Linked DNA regions of Homo sapiens: all the other regions are linked to region 4. The links are contacts of gene promoters, found by promoter capture Hi-C in blood cells and fetal thymus (Javierre and others, 2016). All regions are on one chromosome and are shown on one strand. Each heading gives the region's core, a stretch centred on a gene start or on the middle of the fragment in contact. The rest is flanking DNA. Distances are from core to core; before and after follow the strand shown.

Region 1 (2,700 bases), core at 50-2,549, 230 kb before region 4:
TGGGGAAATAATGTAAAACACAAGCGTTAAGGCTCGTAAAACCTGACGCAAAACTCCCAAACATTTTTAAAAAGATAAATCTCCATGCTCAGCATCTCTTCAATATGGCCAGGCAGATAGACAGTCTGCTCTGACACCTGATGGCCACAGGCCATAACCTGCATGCTCTTTCTCAGGTACCCCAAAGATCTCTTGACTTCTATGTCAAGTAACCAATCGCCTTAGTAACTCATTGTTTATCTTCAAATCCCAGCTTAAACATCATTTCTTCAGGAATGATTACCAAGACTACAGGACTAGGTTAGCGTCACCAGCTACATGCTCTTACAGTAGCCTTCTCCTTTTATTATTAGGTAGTGTTTGTCTTCTCCACTAGATTATAATTCACAAACGCTTGTGAACAGTCTACTTACCTCTGTATCTTTAGCAGAGACAGAGACATGATATCATGTATATACACAGTACTTAACTATTAAACATTTGTTGAATGAATCAACCATATCTTATTTGATCTCTAAGAAGCTCTTAACATTGTCGGTTTGTCTCTTCCTTGAAACTTCCCTTGATTTCTAAAACATTATGCTCTCTTGATTTTCCTTACAGCTCTGCAGGTGCTCAATCTTTCATTGTTTCTGTCCTCCATGGTTTTATCCTTTTTCTTCTTTGTTTACAGCATATACTCTCCAGGGCAGTTTCATCCACACTACAGCTTTCACTATTATCACAGTGAAAACTCTCCAATTGATCTCTACTTTACCAAGTACTAATAGATTAACCAATAGCCTCCGTTTCTTCTGATAAACATATTGACTGATGCTGGATGCTGTACGTAACGACAAGTAAGCTCATCTGGTACATCAACACTTTTATTCCTAATAGTTGAGCTGTATGTTGACAAAAATAAATTATTTTTTTTTTAAAAAGACATCATTTTTTAGAGCAGTTTTAGGCTTATAGAAAAAGTAAGTACAAATAGAGTTTCTCTACACAGACATCTACTTATTGGTTCTAGACTTCTGCAATAAAGCAAGTATCACAATCAAGTCAGTCCCACAAATTTTTTGGTTTCTTAGTGTATACAAAAGTTACATTTACACTATAATGTAATTTATTAAGTGTGCAATAGCATCATGTCCAAAGAATGTACATAACTTAATTTAAAAATATTTCATTGCTAAAAAAATGCTAATGACCACCTGAGTCTTCAGTGAGTCATTTTACTTCCAGTAGAAATTCTTTCAAAACTGGAGTCAATTCTCTCAAACCCTGACACTGCTTTATCAACTAAGTTGATGTAATATTCTAAATCCTTTGTTGTCATTTCACCAATGTTCACAGCATCTTCACCACCTTCTTTGCTCATCCATAAGTAATAACCCCTCATCTGTTGAAGTTTGATCATGAGATTGCAAAAATTCAATCACATTTTCAGGCTCCACTTCTAATTCTCCTGTTATTTATACCACATCTTCAGTTGGTTCCTCCACTAAAGTCTTGAACCCCTCCAAGTCATCCATGAGGGTTGCCGGAATCAACTTCTTCCAAACTCCTGTAAATCTTGGTATTTTGACTTCCCATGAATTACAAATGTTCTTAATGGTATCTAGAATGGCAAATCGTTTCCAGAAAGTTTTCAATTTACTTTGCCCAGATGCGTTACAGAAATCACTATCTATGTAGCTATAGCCTTATGAAATGTATTTCTTAAATATTAAGACTTGAAAGTCAAAATTGCTGGGTGCAGTGACTCACACCTGTAATCCCAGCACTTTGGGAGGCTGAGGTGGATGGATCACTTGAGGTCAGGAGTTCAAGGCCAGCCTGGCCAACATGGTGAAACCCTGTCTCTAATAAATTACAAAAATTAGCTGGGCATGGTGGTGCATACCTGTAATCCCAGCTACTCACGAGGCTGAGGTACGAGAATTGCTTGAACCTGGGAGGCAGAGGCTGCAATGAGCCGAGATTGTACCACTGCATTCCAGCCTGGGGGACAGAGTGAGACTCCATCTCAAAAAAAAAAAAAAAAAAAAAAAAAGTCAAAATTTATCCTTGATCCATGGGCTGCAAAATGCATGTTGTGTTAACAGTATGAAAACAATATTATTGGCTGGGCACAGTGGCTCACGTCTGTAATCCCAGCACTTTGGGAGGCCACGTGGGCGAATCATGAGGTCAGGAGTTCAAGATCAGCCTGGCCAACATAGTGAAGCCCCATCTCTACTAAAAAAAAAAATACAAAAAATTAGCCGGGCACAGTAGTGGGTGCCTGTAATGTTAGCTACTCAGGAGGCTGAGGCAGGAGAATTGCTTGAACCTAGGAGGCAGAGGTGGCAGTGAGCCGAGATCACACCACTACACACCAGCCCAAGTGACAGTGCGAGACTCCATCTCAAAAAAAAAGAAAACAGTATTATTCTCTTTTTACATCTCCATCAGAGCTCTTGCGTGATCAGGTGCATTGTCAATGAGAAGTAATATTTTGAAAATCGTTTTTTCTAATGCACTGGGCCTAGAAAACCATGCTCTTACACAGAAGTGTAAGAGATGTGTGTTCAGTAAATGTGTGCTCAGTAAATCATGCTATTACATAGATGTGCTGTCTTCCAGGCTTTGTTGTCCATTTATAGAGGGCAGACAGAGTAGATTTAGTATATTTCTTAAGGGTCCTAGGATTTTCAGAATGGTAAGTGAGCACTG
Region 2 (2,700 bases), core at 102-2,601, 150 kb before region 4:
GGAGGTCAAGGCAGGAGGATTGCTTGAGCCCAGGAATTCAAGACCAGCTTTGGTAACATAGTGAGACTCTGTCCCTAGAAAAAATAAAGCAGTCCAAACACATCCCACACCTTGTCATTTATAGAAGGTATCATTAACATTCAGTAATAGCTTGGTACCTAGCACATTACATTACCTAGTATGTGGTCATATGTTCAATAAGCTCTTTTTTCCCATTAAATGGAATTAGCTGACCTTAGTCTATACCCTTTCAATAAATTCAAGCCAAGGGCCATCAGAGCTGGTCTATTCTTACCCAAGTGAGGACCCAGAGTGAGTTGATGGAGTTGAAGGGAACAGGTTAGCAACCCTTGGAATAGATGATACTGTAAAAAACTGCATTATTTGAGCTGGGTGCAGTGATGTGTGCCTGTAGTCCTAGCTACTCCAGAGGCTGAGGTGGAAGGATCCCTTGAGCCCAGGAGTTAGAGTCCAGCCTGGGCAACATAATGAGACACGACCCCCTAACCCCATCTCTGAAACCCGCCCCACCACACACACACAACTGCATTCTTTAAATAAAAATGAAACCACAAATCAATCCTTCCTTCCTTCCTTTTTCTTTCTTTCTGAGATAGAGTCTTGCTCTGTTGCCCAGGCTGGAGTGCAGTGGCATGATCATGGCTCACTACAGCCTCTACCTCCTGGGCTCCAGCAATCGTTGTACCTCAGCCTACAGAGTAGTTGAGACTATAGGCATGTGCTACTACACCTGGCTGGTCGGTTTTTTTCGTAGTAGGTTTTTTTTTTTTTTTTTTTTTTTGAGACGGAGTCTCACCCTGTTGCCCAGGCTGGAGTGTGGTGGTGCAATCTCAGCTCACTGCAACCTCTGCCTCCAGGGTTCAAGCGATTCTCCTTCCTCAGCCTCCTGAGTAGCTGAGATTACAGGGGCCAACCACCGCACCTGGCTAATTTTTGTATTTTTAGTAGAGATAGGGTTTCACCATCTTGGCCGGGCTGGCCTCTAACTCCTGACCTTGTGATCCCCCTGCCTCAGCCTCCCAAAGTGCTGGGATTACAGGTGTGAGCCACCATGCCCTGCCTGGCTGGTTGTTTTGTTGTTGTTGTTATTGTTTCAGACAAGTTCTCTCTGTTGCCCAGGCTGGAGTGCAGTGACTGGTTATGACTCACTTTAGCTCCCAACTCCTGGACTCAGGTTATTCTCCCACCTCGGCCTCCCAAGTACCTGAAACTACAAGTGTGCGCCACCATGCCTGGCTATTTTTTTGTATTTTTTATAGACAGGGTTTCACCATGTTGCCCAGGCTGTTCTTGAATTCCTGGGCTCAAGCAGTCCTCCTGCCTTGGCTTCCCAAAGTACTGGGATTACAGGCATGAGCCACTGTGCCTGGACCCAGCTATTTTTGTTTTTTATTTTTGTAGAGAGTCTCACTCTGCTGCCCAGGCTGATCTCAAACTCCTCAGTGCAAGCGATCCTCCTGCCTTGGCCTCCCAAAGTGCTGGGACTACAGGCATGAGCCACCATGCCCAGCCCAAACTTTGTAACTTAATGGAGAAGATCCCAGTGGAGAGGTTCAACCGGACCATATTATCATTATTGTATTCCCCAAGATGTATGGACCATCTCCTCAGGTCTCACAAATTACTGCTTCCACCAGCATAATTGCCTCTAGGAGGCACTGCTTCCCCCTTTAAGGCTGTGGACCAGTTGCTGTGAATTATTATCTAGTCTACAGCTGAGCTGGGTTCTAGCTGCTAGGAGAAATAAATTCTATGAGTGAGAGTGACGTCAATCAAGATCATGTGGCTTATAGAATTTGTTTACCCTCTGCAGCTCACGGGGATCCCTGTCTTCCTAGGTCTTGGGCTATTCATGCATACTGGGCCCTCTTTACTCCCAGCATCCAAGGAATCATTAGCCAGGCTTGATGGTAGGGGCTAGAGTAGAACAAAACATGTTTGCCAAGTTCTTTGTAAGAGCCAAGTCTAGTGGGGAAGAAGGGTATTCACCTAGATTCCTCAAGACTAGGCCAAGAGACAGGGCAAGGAAAAGGTCCTGACAGCCTTCTTAACACCTTCCCTGACAGTTCCTAGTTTTCTGGTTTGAAATTGAAAAGGGTACTTCCCTAAGGCAATACCTATCCCTCTAGCAGAGGGCAACCATTTCAGCACACAGCACAGTAAGTAACACTTTGTCGATGCACATAGTTGGTTATAGAGGGTCTGTTAATTACATATACATGGAATTTACTATGAAATAAATCTCATTTTATGTATATATTGGCTGAAAAGCAGGTCATTTGTAGTAACAGTAGTTTAAAAAACCCAATGAGTTAATTAAATTAATGTTTACATTTTTATTCTGAAAATTAATGTGTAATATTGAATAATATATTCTGCTTTCAGTAAATCCAGTTCTGCTCTAAGTAAATGCCACAAAGTTTGAAAAATGCAAGTTCATTTTAATTTCATAAAATTTATCTTTGACAGGACTAAGGCCCAATCAACATTTTTCTACATTGATTTGTTAAACCACCGGATTATAATAAAGCTAACCATTAATGATCCTTTATAGCAAAAACTTAAAAACTGATAATTGTCTTTTTTTTTTTTTTTTTGAGTCTCGCTCTGTCACCCAGGCTGGAGTGCAGTGGCGCAGTCTCGGCTCACTGCAACCTCCGCCTCCCAGGTTCACGCCAT
Region 3 (2,700 bases), core at 15-2,514, 250 kb before region 4:
GGTCTCGAACTCCCGACCTCAGGTAATCTGCCCACCTTGGCCTCCCAAAGTGCTGGGATTACAGGCATGAGGCACCGTGCTCAGCCACTGCACTCCAGCCTGGGCAACAAGAGCGAAACTGTCTCAAAAAAAAAAAAAAAAAAAAAAAAAGAAAAGAAAAAGAAAAATGGAAAGCAACCTCAGCATCAAAAACACTGAATATAAATTGTATTGCATCTACTTAATATTGCTTTCCATTTTTCAAAGTGACAAATTTCATTACATTATATATTTTAGTCCATATAATTGTTTTCCTGAATTTTGGAGAATTCCCTTAGGATGAATTATCAAATGTCATTCAAAGGATATAAACATTTTATAGTTCTAGATGCTTGTGGACTAATGCCAAATAGCATTTTAAATGGTAAGAATATTTAAAATGAACATTTCTAAGGAAGTCATTAGAGTAATTGTGTCAATCACTCTTTTCTTTTGCCAAATCAACTGTATTTGCAGCCCCAAGTATAGACTCTATATCACATTACAACTATTTGTTTTTTTCACTGTTCCAAAGATATTATTACATTTTAGCAACTGGAAATGGCTCCATCTTTGTACCCAGATATAGATGAAAAATCCTAATAACCATAGGTAGTTTGATGATTCAAATTTTACCATTCTAAGATTATAATTTATTGATTGATTTACTTTTAAACTGAAAAGCTTAGAATGAATGCTAAATATACCACAATATTTTCATTCTTTCTTAAAATTTTAATCTCAGTAGGCTGGGCGCGCTGGCTTATGCCTATAATCCCAGCATTTCGGAAGGCTGAGGCAGGGAAGGGAAGGGATCACCCGAGGTCAGGAGATCAACACCAGCCAACATGGTGAAACCTCATCTCTACTAAAAATATAAAAATTAGGCAGCGTGGTGGCACACGCCTATAATCCCAGCTACTTGCGAGGCTGAGGCAAGAGAATTGCTTGAACCTGGGAGGCGGAGGTTGCAGTGAGCCGAGACTGCGCCACTGCACTCCAGCCTGGGAAACAAGAGCAAGACTCTGTCTAAACAAAAAACAAACTAATCTCAGTAATGTAGATTGTGAGGAAGAAAATAAGATATAAACAGTTGTCAATTTAAAGGGTTCTATCTATGCTTTTACTTGCCACACCTGCCATAAACTGTGCACAATTAGTAGACAGGTGTGGAGAGCAGTAGAGGGAAGGGGATGAATCTGTCCCACAGGGTCTGCCACTATTGTATTTTTTTATGACACTGGAATTTTAACAACATTAATAACCTCATTTTTCAGCACTTTCTAGAATTCCAATCAAGGTAAATATCATAAGAAATTAAATGAGAGTAAAAGTCAAGAAAACATTTTGAAGGAATATAATGAAGGTTTAGGGTACTCAACACAATGCAAGTAATGAAAGTTCACTGGTATCCTGGAAAGAAAATGTCAACTGATGATTCCGCAATTGTAGTTTCATCTTTATCCACTCATCATTATCTAATAAATCAGCTGCATGGTGCTTAGCACATATTAAGCACTCTGTTTGTTGAATACTCAGATGCTTTGAAAAATGATGGGTTTTGCTTTCTATATCCTCTTTCATTTGAAATGTCAGAAAAAAAGGCTCCCTTAAAGCAGAAAGTGCCTATTGGTAATCAGAGGGTATATACAGTTCATTAGTACTTACCTGCTCTCGAATCATATTTTTGTAGTGAGTCACAATATTGTCATGCTGTTCTAATGTTTTTTTCACCTCTTCTTCTTTTTTATCTTCTTCACTGGACTTATAAATAGCCTTAGTTATAACACCTATAAAAGGAAGCTTATTTAAAATTTGTTTTAAATGTTTTAAATACTATTTTACTACTAAGACTTAGTAAAAACATATAACCTAACTCCATGATAGGTAAGAAATAATCTTTTCAATCCTACTGAAAGCCAAATGTCCTTCAATGGGCTACAGATCAAGAGCTAGGAAGAAAATATACCTTTAGAGTTACCATATAACCTGTATGCATCCAGAATATACATGTACAATATAAATATAATTACTTTCCATCAAATATCAATATAAATCTTCAGTCTTACCTTCAAGTTCTTTTACCAGCTTCGTAAACTCATGATCAAATATCATGTATTCTGGACTGGGAAAGTTTGGCTGGGGTTTCTGAGATGCTCTGGAATACAACTCATGTTTGCTAATAAATCCTAGTTTCTCTATGAAATTCTCTTTGCCAATCCTCTTCTCAATCAGTTGTTTTAGCTTCTCTCTACGGAGATAAGCATATTGAGATGCTTTAAAAAAAATAAAATCAAAACAAAACATAAAAGCTTGGTCTACATAATGCTTTGGCAAAAAAAAAAAAAAAGCATCATTATCTCTTGATGCCATTAGAAAACCATCTTCCCCTTACTTACTTCATGTAGCTCTCAAGTGAGTTATCATTGAAATAAATCGAAATGCCCAACAAAAGGGCACATAAGCCTTGGACCAACTGCTCTTCTTCTCCAAGATTTTCTGCAATTTGTCCTGTAAGCTGAAATCTTTGTTAAGGAGGCTAAGGATTGAAAATATCTAGTACATTTTGCAATTTGAATTTGACATACATTAATACTTCACATAAGAGTTCCCATAAGAAATTCCATATATAGGCTAGGTGTGGTGGCTCATGCCTGTAATCTCAGCACTTTGGGAGGCCAA
Region 4 (2,700 bases), core at 65-2,564:
GTGTGAGCCACTGTACCCAGCCTCAGTGGGTGTTTTTAAGATGTGAATAAAATAAATCTCTAATCTCATTATAACTTGTTTAGCTATGTGTTTACAAAGCCTCCTGAAGAGCGGTTCACTTTTTGCAGAGAAAGTGGCAGGTGGCTAGTTTTGTTTTATGATGCTTCTTTTAGATGTCACTTTTAGTAGGTGAGGCTTGGGGGCCTTGCCTTGGGATATGGGGGCAGGTTTTGTTCATAATCTATGCCCTGTCCCCTGATTGCCAGAGTGTGTGCAGAGGTTGGATCAGGGGGTTTCTGAGTGTTCCACAACCAGCTCTTATGTCTCTCCCCTCCTCCTGTCTATTGTGAGCTCTGAGGGATGGGAACGGGGAATCTGTCTGGGGATGAGCAGGGTTTGGCTGAGCCCCTGCAAAGCCCCCTACCCAAGACATGTGAAAGGGGTGAAGTGCTCTGTTTGACTCCTAGGTCCATCTTCCGTAAACAGCATCTAGTTTTGGAATTAAAATAAACTGAAGAAAAGGTTAGATCTAGGCTCCCCAAGATTTCCTCCCCTTGTATTTCCCTCTTTTCATCCCTTCCCCAGCCTTTTCTTTCCTTTTCCTAGGGGTTTGCAAACCAATTGTAAGGCTCAGGACACATTTTGTAGTGGGAACAAAGAAAGAGAATAGGAACAGTTGAGAAATGGAATCTAATAAAATCCTAAAGAAAGAAACCTGTGCCCACCTCTGTGGCACCAAAATGCAGCTCAATAGATGTGATTAATTAAAGCAATGAACAAAGACTAAATACCCACCATGTGCAAATTAATATGCTGCTGGAGATAGAAAGTGGACAGTGCTGTAATTCAAAGTGGAATTGTTAGCTTTGTAACCATAATAACTAGTATTTGTACAGTGTTTTTAGCTTGAAGAGTTTTTCACAGATGATAGCTCATTTGGTCCTTGCAAACCCCATAACGATGGATATTGTTAATGTTGTCACTTCACATATGAGGAATCTGATACTCAGAGATTTTAAGTGTGTCTAAAGTCACAGAGCTATTGCTGAGACGAGGACCAAGGTCTTCAGGTGACAAAATCCAACTTCCTTCTCTTTAACCACACAGGCTGATGGAAGCTGAGGTAAATATTTCCAATTTATGGGAACGTATAATCATGGAGCCAGTTTTGTCTTTTCCTACAACTTATTAATTAGTGGACCCACAGTAGAATAAAAGCAAAACCCTTACCTTCTGCCACAGTTACCACCAACCAGCATACCAGTAACCAGTAGGAGAAGCAGTGTCTGCGAGCCATGGCTTCTACTGAGCAGTCACTGCGTTGAACCTGATGTTGCTTTAAAGGGGAGCTGGTGAGTCACCAGCAGCCTGATTCAGGTAATTTGCATTTGCACAGTGGACCACAGAGATCAGGGCTTGCGGTGTGAGGGTAAGAAATCAGCAAGGAAATACCAGACAGTATTTGTCAACCAGAAGCTTCTTGGAATGACAGCCAGATATCAATCATCTCCCCCCAGAGGGGGATTTTGGACAACCGCACCTTCACCATCCTTCTAATCTCTCAAATCTTCTCCCATGTTAGTGCCTTTTAGTTGTGTATATCAGTCTTCCTCTGCAAGAGAAATAAGCTGTCCAGAAATATGCAACAGTGCTTCTCTCTGTGCAGCTTACCTACTTAAAAAGCGAAACAAGAGGGAGAGGGCATTACCCGGAGGCTTCCTGACCCCGGTGGTTTGCAGTGGAGAGTTGGGGATCATTCTTAGGCCCCCAACCAGGGTTTATGCTGCTTCTCTGCTCTGCTTTTGTCCAGGAGGTGAGGGCAGCAGAATCAGAAAGTGATCTTCCCTAGTGGTCATGATGGTCACTGTCTAAACAAACATAAACATTGGGAGAGTAACTTAGTGAGTCGTCCTTTCACGGCTCCTCCTGATTCACCATATTGCATATAAAATGGACATGACATGTCTATGTCCAGTTGGTTTCCTGAGAGAAAGACTTCATCAGCTGCTGGATATATGAGAGGGGATTGTCACAGGTGATTAAGAACATGGACCTTGGAGTCAGGTAAAATTCCAGTCTTTGTTCCTTTTCTTACTAGCTGAGTGACTGTGGTGAGTCCCTGAGACTTGCTGAAGCCTCAGGGGCCTCACCTGTAAAATGGGACTTGTGGTACTACCCTCAGAGGAATTTGTGAATTAAGGAGATGCTTTTAAAAAAAATTTTTTTTAAATTTCAATCTTTTGGGGTACGAGTGGTTTTGGGTTACATGGATGGACTCTATGGTGGCGAACTCTGAGATTTTAGTGCACTCGTCACCCGAGCAGTGTACACTGCACCCAATATGTAGTCTTTTATCCCTCACCTCCTTCCCAACCTCCCCCACCCCTAGCCTCTAAAGTCCATTATATCATTCTGTATGTCTTTGTGTCCTCATAGCTCAGCTCCCACGTATAAGTGAGAACATACGATATTTGGTTTTCCATTCCTGAGTTACTTAACTTGGAATAATGGCCTCCAGCTCCATCCAAGTTGCTGCAAAAGACATTATTTCATTTTTTTATGGCTGAGTAGTATTCCATGGTGTATTTCTACCACATTTTCTTTATCCACTCGTTGGTCGATGGCCACTTAGTTGGTTTCATATCAAGGAGATAATTGACATACAGCTCCAACCACAGTGCCTGGCCTGTGAAAGGGAGT
Region 5 (2,700 bases), core at 97-2,596, 170 kb before region 4:
GCAAAACAGGCCAAGAGAGAAAACACATTCCAGTTATGACATTGACCTGGTTATTAATGTAGAATACATCAACCCAAATAGGAATTTCAGACTACACATTTATAGTAACATGGTATAAAATGTGCTTGACTAAACGAAAACTATGTCTAAATTTAAGTCCACACTCTTTAATAACAATTTTTATTAAAAGAAAATATGGCTGTGTTTATATTGTTAGCCCTTCTGCTTTCTGAGACAGCTGATGAAAGTTTGATCTGGAAAGAGACCCCATAACAATGTTCTAATTCTGTATGCTTTTTCTGGACATTAGCAACTTTCATGTCTCGGGGTCCAACTTGAGAACAGAAAATGCCTCTATGATTCATCATCAAATGTAGTTAACACTTGCTTGGAATTTTCAAGAAACTAGCTTTAAAAAAGGTACAAGTTGGGGGCTGGGCGCAGTGGCTCACGCCTATAATCCTAGCACTTTGAGAGGCCGAGGCGGGCAGACTGCCTGAGCTCAGGAGTTCAAGACCAGCCTGGGCATCACAGTGCAACCCTGTCTCTACTAAAATACAAAAAAATTAGCCTGGCGTGGTGGCGTGCACCTGTAGTCCCAGCTGCTCGGGAGACTGAGCCAGGAGAACTGCTTGAACCCAGGAGGCGGAGGCTGCAGTGAGCCGAGATTACGTCACTGCACTCCAGCCTGGGCGACAGAGCGAGACTTCGTACCCCACCCCCCTACCCAAAAAAAAGGTGCTAGATAGAAGGCAGATATAACACTAAGCACACATAAGCTTACATTCAAAAGCATGAAGTCCCTGGTGGTCTAGTGGTTAGGGAAAAAGAGAAAACTAAAAAACAAAAGCATGAGTAGGATTTGTACTATAATAATATGCACCCAGCAAACTGTGTCAAGGCTAAAGAGGCTTCAATCACCAGAAATCAGTGTCAAGTAAAAAAGAGAAATGAAATGTAAAAGTACCCGACTCTGGGGCCAGGTGCCGTGGCTCACACCTGTAATTCCAGCACTTTGGGAGGCCAAGGCAGGCGGATCACGAAGTCAGGAGATCGAGACCATCCTGGTTAACACGGTGAAACCCCATCTCCACTAAAAATACAAAAATTAGCCGGTGTGGTGGCAGACACCTGTAGTCCCAGCTACTTGGGAGGCTGAGGCAGAAGAATGGCGTGAACCCGGGAGGGGGAGCTTGCAGTGAGCCAAGATTGCGCCACTGCACTCCAGCCTGGGCCACAGAGCGAGACTCTGTCTCAAAACAAAACAAAACAAAAACAAAAACAAAAGTACATGACTCTAAAACAGAAAAAGTTTAATGTGGATGAAATTCTGAATTTAAAATATCCAGTACTTTATAGAATTGACTATCCTATGATAAAATATTTACTACTTGACAGGTTCTCAAGAACATCTTTCTTTTTGAGACAGTCTCGCTCTCTCGCCCAGGCTGGAATGCAGTGGCACAATCTTAACCACTCAGTGGTTGCTCACTGCCAACCACCGCCTCGATTCTCCTGCCTCAGCCTCCTGAGTAGCTGAGATTATAGGCATGTGCCACCATGCCCAGCTAATTTTTGTATTTTTAGTAGAGACAGGGTTTCACCATAAAAATGTGCTTGACTCCAGAAAGGAGTTTGGCCAGGCTGGTCTCAAACTCCTGACCTCAAGTGCTCCATCTGCCTTGGCCTCCCAAAGTGCTGGGATTATAGGCGTGAGCCCCCGGCCTGAAGAACATCTTAATATCAGTCCAAAGTTACTCTTAACTAAGAGTATGAAAAGCTAGATACTATACAATCAATCACATAACTCTCACACATTTAAAAGATACTTAAATTCAATAAGAAAAAAAAAAACAAGAAAGCAGTCAAAGCATTTAGTAAATATGAAAAAATCCCTTAAGTAAAAAGCTTGACACAATGAACTTCATTTGAGAACTTCAGTTTCTAGTCTTTAAAAAGTGTTTTAGTACCTAGTAACGTAAGTTGCTATAATTACAGATCTGTGATTTCTTTCAAATAAAACTATAATTAATTCATTTCACAAGTATTTACTGGGCATCTACTACTGTGGAAAAACAAAGATTAAAATACATTATGAACCCTGCCCTAAAGACACTTTAAGAGTCTAGAAGGAATAAGATATATGCACACTGTAGTTAAAATGTAAAGGTAGCTCAGAAAGGAAAAAGCATCTGAAACGTGCTGGGGGAAAGTACAGATTAGGGGAGGCGCTGATGATGAATTTAAATAACAGGTCTAATTCAGACAAAGAAAAGAGCCCTTCCATTGGAAAAAAGATGTTAGAAAAAGCAAGAAAGATGGAAAGCCACCATGAAAAAAATTTAATTTTGCAGAAATGGAAAAAACTACAAAATAATAAATGATAATATAGAAGCTAGGGGTTCCAAGCTCTGGTAACTCAAATATCCTGGCCAGACTAAATCATCAATTAAAACATCTAAAATTGTATATACACTCCACTGATGCTCTATAAATACTTCTAAATTAGTAATCCATGACCCCTTTTACCTGTTGTACTTCCTGGTGGAACGAAATAGTGAAACAAATTTTATTCATACTGTACCTCAGAATAATAATTTTCAGAAGGCAAATTGCTTTATTGTGGAGGTGATTAAAAAGAAAAAATAGAAGACAAATTACTTTTCCAATTTTAAATGTACATACTCAAAGTTAGGCAAG
Region 6 (2,700 bases), core at 36-2,535, 210 kb before region 4:
AATAAAATCTCACAAGAGCTGGTGGGCTAATGAGCCTACCTTGTTTTTTAAGCCACCCCAGAACCCTAACAAATCATGGAGATGTTAGCCAAATTCTAGTGAAACTGTATAGATAAAAAAGCAGATAAAGAAATTATACAAAAAGGGCCCATTGGGAATGCATGTCAAATAAATTATTCTCCAAATACATGAGAAATCTATGTTCAAAAGACAAGTAATATTCTCTCAGAATTGTCTCCCTCAAGAAATTAAAATCACAGCAATATTAACTTAGTCATGGGTGCTTTGTAGGGCTAGTTTCCATTTGCATATATTCATATTTGTTGAATGAGATATATAACTTTAAAAATCATGCGTTTGAAAGTAATTTATAGCATAATTATTTTTTATCTCAGTGGTGTGAAGATAGCAGAGAATGAAAACTTGACTACAAACAAAAGACAGTAATGTGAGTGAGTGAAGCAGGCTAACATTAGAGGATGGGGAGTATATGCTCTGTCTAAGGAAAACAGCAGTTACTCAACTCCAGCTGCCTGTTGCCATGTAGGAATGCAGATCCAGGTATTGCCAATCTTCAGGTTTTTTCAAAAAGAAGTCTAAAATACAAACGTTGACACAAGCTCCCAATTTATAATAGTGGCAACTTATTCACCTTACTTAAAATACTATGTGGGTCAAACAGCCTTGCTTACAAGATAGACAATGCCCTTGGGCCAAAAGTTTGTGACCTCATGAGAAAAGCTAAAAATTATAGTTATTGACATTTGGGAAAACATTAAAAATTATAAACTAATCTAAAAAGGAAGAAAAAAAACCACATATAGACTTGATGGATTCTTCCCCTAAAATGTATTTTAAAATGTTGAAATATTTTTACATATGTAAACATAAACAACTAACCAAGCCTTGGTTAGTATATTTCAAAACAAAGGATAGTGTGGCATGTTAATAGGTACATGGCAGAACTAAGCCCCTGTGGACAAATATATTTGGATTAAACAAAGTTGAACAAGATTTTTCACTGCAGGCTTCTCAGCACTTACTACACCAGTGTAAATTTTATGAAGCTTCAGAGGGGAATATAGTATTTATGTTTATTTAACTATGAACCCGTTTTAATACAGAACACTCTCTAGAACTTCTGTGCTATGCTTTAAGGAAGTCAGGTCTAATACCAGAAAAAGTTTAATTCAGTGTTTGCACTGGGCACAAGCAAATAACTTAGGAAGAAGTAGAGTTAATATCTTTAATTTATTCTGTAGCTATATTGTATAATATGCTGTAGCTTATCAGTATAGAATTAAAATTTACATTTTGAACTGAACTAGTAAAATATGGTCCTATTACAAGGATCAATGGTTCCTTCTGGTTTAACACTGTCAATTTGAAAAAGTGTGAGATATACGCCATTTCTTTTAAGTTACAGTCATAAGACAGCACTTCTGAACTTTAATGAAGTATCCCCAAATTAGCTAAGCAATTAAGGTAATACACAAAGCTTTAAGTGTAGCAGTAAATTAAGCTACAAACTACTATAAACTACTACACTAATATCTAAAAGTTGTGAACAAAAACTAGAACCATGAGAAATTATACCAATTATACGTGTAAGCAAAGGCATGAAACAAGTAAACCATCTTCTCTCATCATTAATCATTAGATTACAACCTTTATAGCTAAGTTTTTTATAGCCTATAGTTTATATATTATATTGTGCATTTATAACCTGTAAATGACCATTTATTGTAAGGTAAATGAAAAAAATAAGATAAAAATGAAATGGCCCTTTGTTACCATAGTAAAAATAAATTTAATATAGGAATGTAAAATAAAAAAATGCCCGTTCTAAGTACTTACACAGATGCTCCTCAATTTACAATGGGGTTATGTCCTGATAAGCCCATCAAAAACTGAAAATATCATAGGTTGAAAATGTATTTAATATGTTTAACCTACTTTAAATGTGCCCAGAACACTTACATTATCCTACAGCTAGGCAAAATATAACAGAAATCATATTTTATAATAAAGTATTATCTCATGTAATTTACTGAATACTGTACTGAAGGTGAAAAAACAGAATGGTTGTATGGGTATTCGAAGTATAGATTCTACTGAATGTATATTGCTTTCACACCATCGTAAATCAAAAAATCGTGAAGTTGAACCATCATCTGTCTGTATAGCTCTGGATAGTTTTCAGGCCTGTTTATATGGCTGGCATTTAAGTACGCATGCATAGATATATTTACTCTTCAAATGTATTTCTAGTAGTACTTTTTCCAGAGGTGTAAACAATATTTAAAAACATTTCTGGATCTTCTCTTTGGAATTCTATTCTATACTAAGTTCACAATCTATATTATGAAGAAAAGAAATTGCTTTATAAAAGGAGATATCCTAATAAAATCAGTCCTCAGAGTGAAGAAATATCAAATAATCTTCGTTTATACTGGTAGTTAATTAAACAGGTACATGTATACTTTTTTTGTTGTTTTTGTTTTGAGACGGAGTCTCGCACTGTCGCCCAGTCTGGAGTGCAGTGGCACGATCTCTGCTCACTGCAAGCTCCGCCTCCCAGGTTCACACCATTCTCCTGCCTCAGCCTCCCAAGTAGCTGGGACTACAGGGGCCCGCCACCACGCCTGGCTAATTTTTTGTATTTTTAGTAGAGATGGGGTTTCACCATGTTAGCCAGGA

What was found. Contacts are between HindIII fragments. The CHiCAGO score rates a contact against its expected background, and 5 or more counts as called.
Region 1: a fragment that was not itself captured here is called in contact with the fragment with the promoter of ODAPH in region 4 in 2 of 17 cell types (neutrophils and activated CD4 T cells); the score reaches 5.5 in neutrophils.
Region 2: a contact is called between a fragment that was not itself captured here and the fragment with the promoter of ODAPH in region 4, in 6 of 17 cell types (total CD8 T cells, naive CD8 T cells, activated CD4 T cells and 3 more). The highest score is 6.9, in total CD8 T cells.
Region 3: a contact is called between a fragment that was not itself captured here and the fragment with the promoter of ODAPH in region 4, in 8 of 17 cell types (total CD8 T cells, activated CD4 T cells, naive CD8 T cells and 5 more). The highest score is 7.6, in total CD8 T cells.
Region 5: a fragment that was not itself captured here is called in contact with the fragment with the promoter of ODAPH in region 4 in 2 of 17 cell types (naive CD8 T cells and total CD8 T cells); the score reaches 5.7 in naive CD8 T cells.
Region 6: a contact is called between a fragment that was not itself captured here and the fragment with the promoter of ODAPH in region 4, in 1 of 17 cell types (naive CD8 T cells). The highest score is 5.3, in naive CD8 T cells.

What each region holds. Positions count from the first base shown.
Region 1 is chr4:75,779,979-75,782,678 of GRCh38, reverse strand. The region is part of intron 8 of USO1 (USO1 vesicle transport factor); the gene reads right to left. Among named protein-coding and RNA genes, the nearest start is that of USO1, 57 kb to the right of the region's middle. The HindIII fragment of the contact is 4,054 bases long and covers 1-2,700 here.
Region 2 is chr4:75,707,522-75,710,221 of GRCh38, reverse strand. It overlaps a transcript of G3BP2 not described here. Among named protein-coding and RNA genes, the nearest start is that of USO1, 16 kb to the left of the region's middle. The HindIII fragment of the contact is 6,765 bases long and covers 1-2,700 here.
Region 3 is chr4:75,800,187-75,802,886 of GRCh38, reverse strand. USO1 (USO1 vesicle transport factor) reads right to left here. Exons shown (of 24, transcript NM_003715.4): 15 at 2,418-2,536; 16 at 2,088-2,269; 17 at 1,687-1,808. Among named protein-coding and RNA genes, the nearest start is that of USO1, 77 kb to the right of the region's middle. The HindIII fragment of the contact is 1,119 bases long and covers 705-1,823 here.
Region 4 is chr4:75,554,680-75,557,379 of GRCh38, reverse strand. ODAPH (odontogenesis associated phosphoprotein) reads right to left here and starts at 1,314. Exons shown (of 2, transcript NM_178497.5): 1 at 1,231-1,314. The coding sequence starts at 1,297. RefSeq lists a silencer at 1,287-1,581. The HindIII fragment of the contact is 3,725 bases long and covers 1-1,478 here.
Region 5 is chr4:75,727,373-75,730,072 of GRCh38, reverse strand. The region is part of intron 1 of USO1 (USO1 vesicle transport factor); the gene reads right to left. Among named protein-coding and RNA genes, the nearest start is that of USO1, 4.1 kb to the right of the region's middle. The HindIII fragment of the contact is 1,129 bases long and covers 782-1,910 here.
Region 6 is chr4:75,762,732-75,765,431 of GRCh38, reverse strand. All of the region lies in intron 4 of USO1 (USO1 vesicle transport factor), which reads right to left. Among named protein-coding and RNA genes, the nearest start is that of USO1, 40 kb to the right of the region's middle. The HindIII fragment of the contact is 431 bases long and covers 1,070-1,500 here.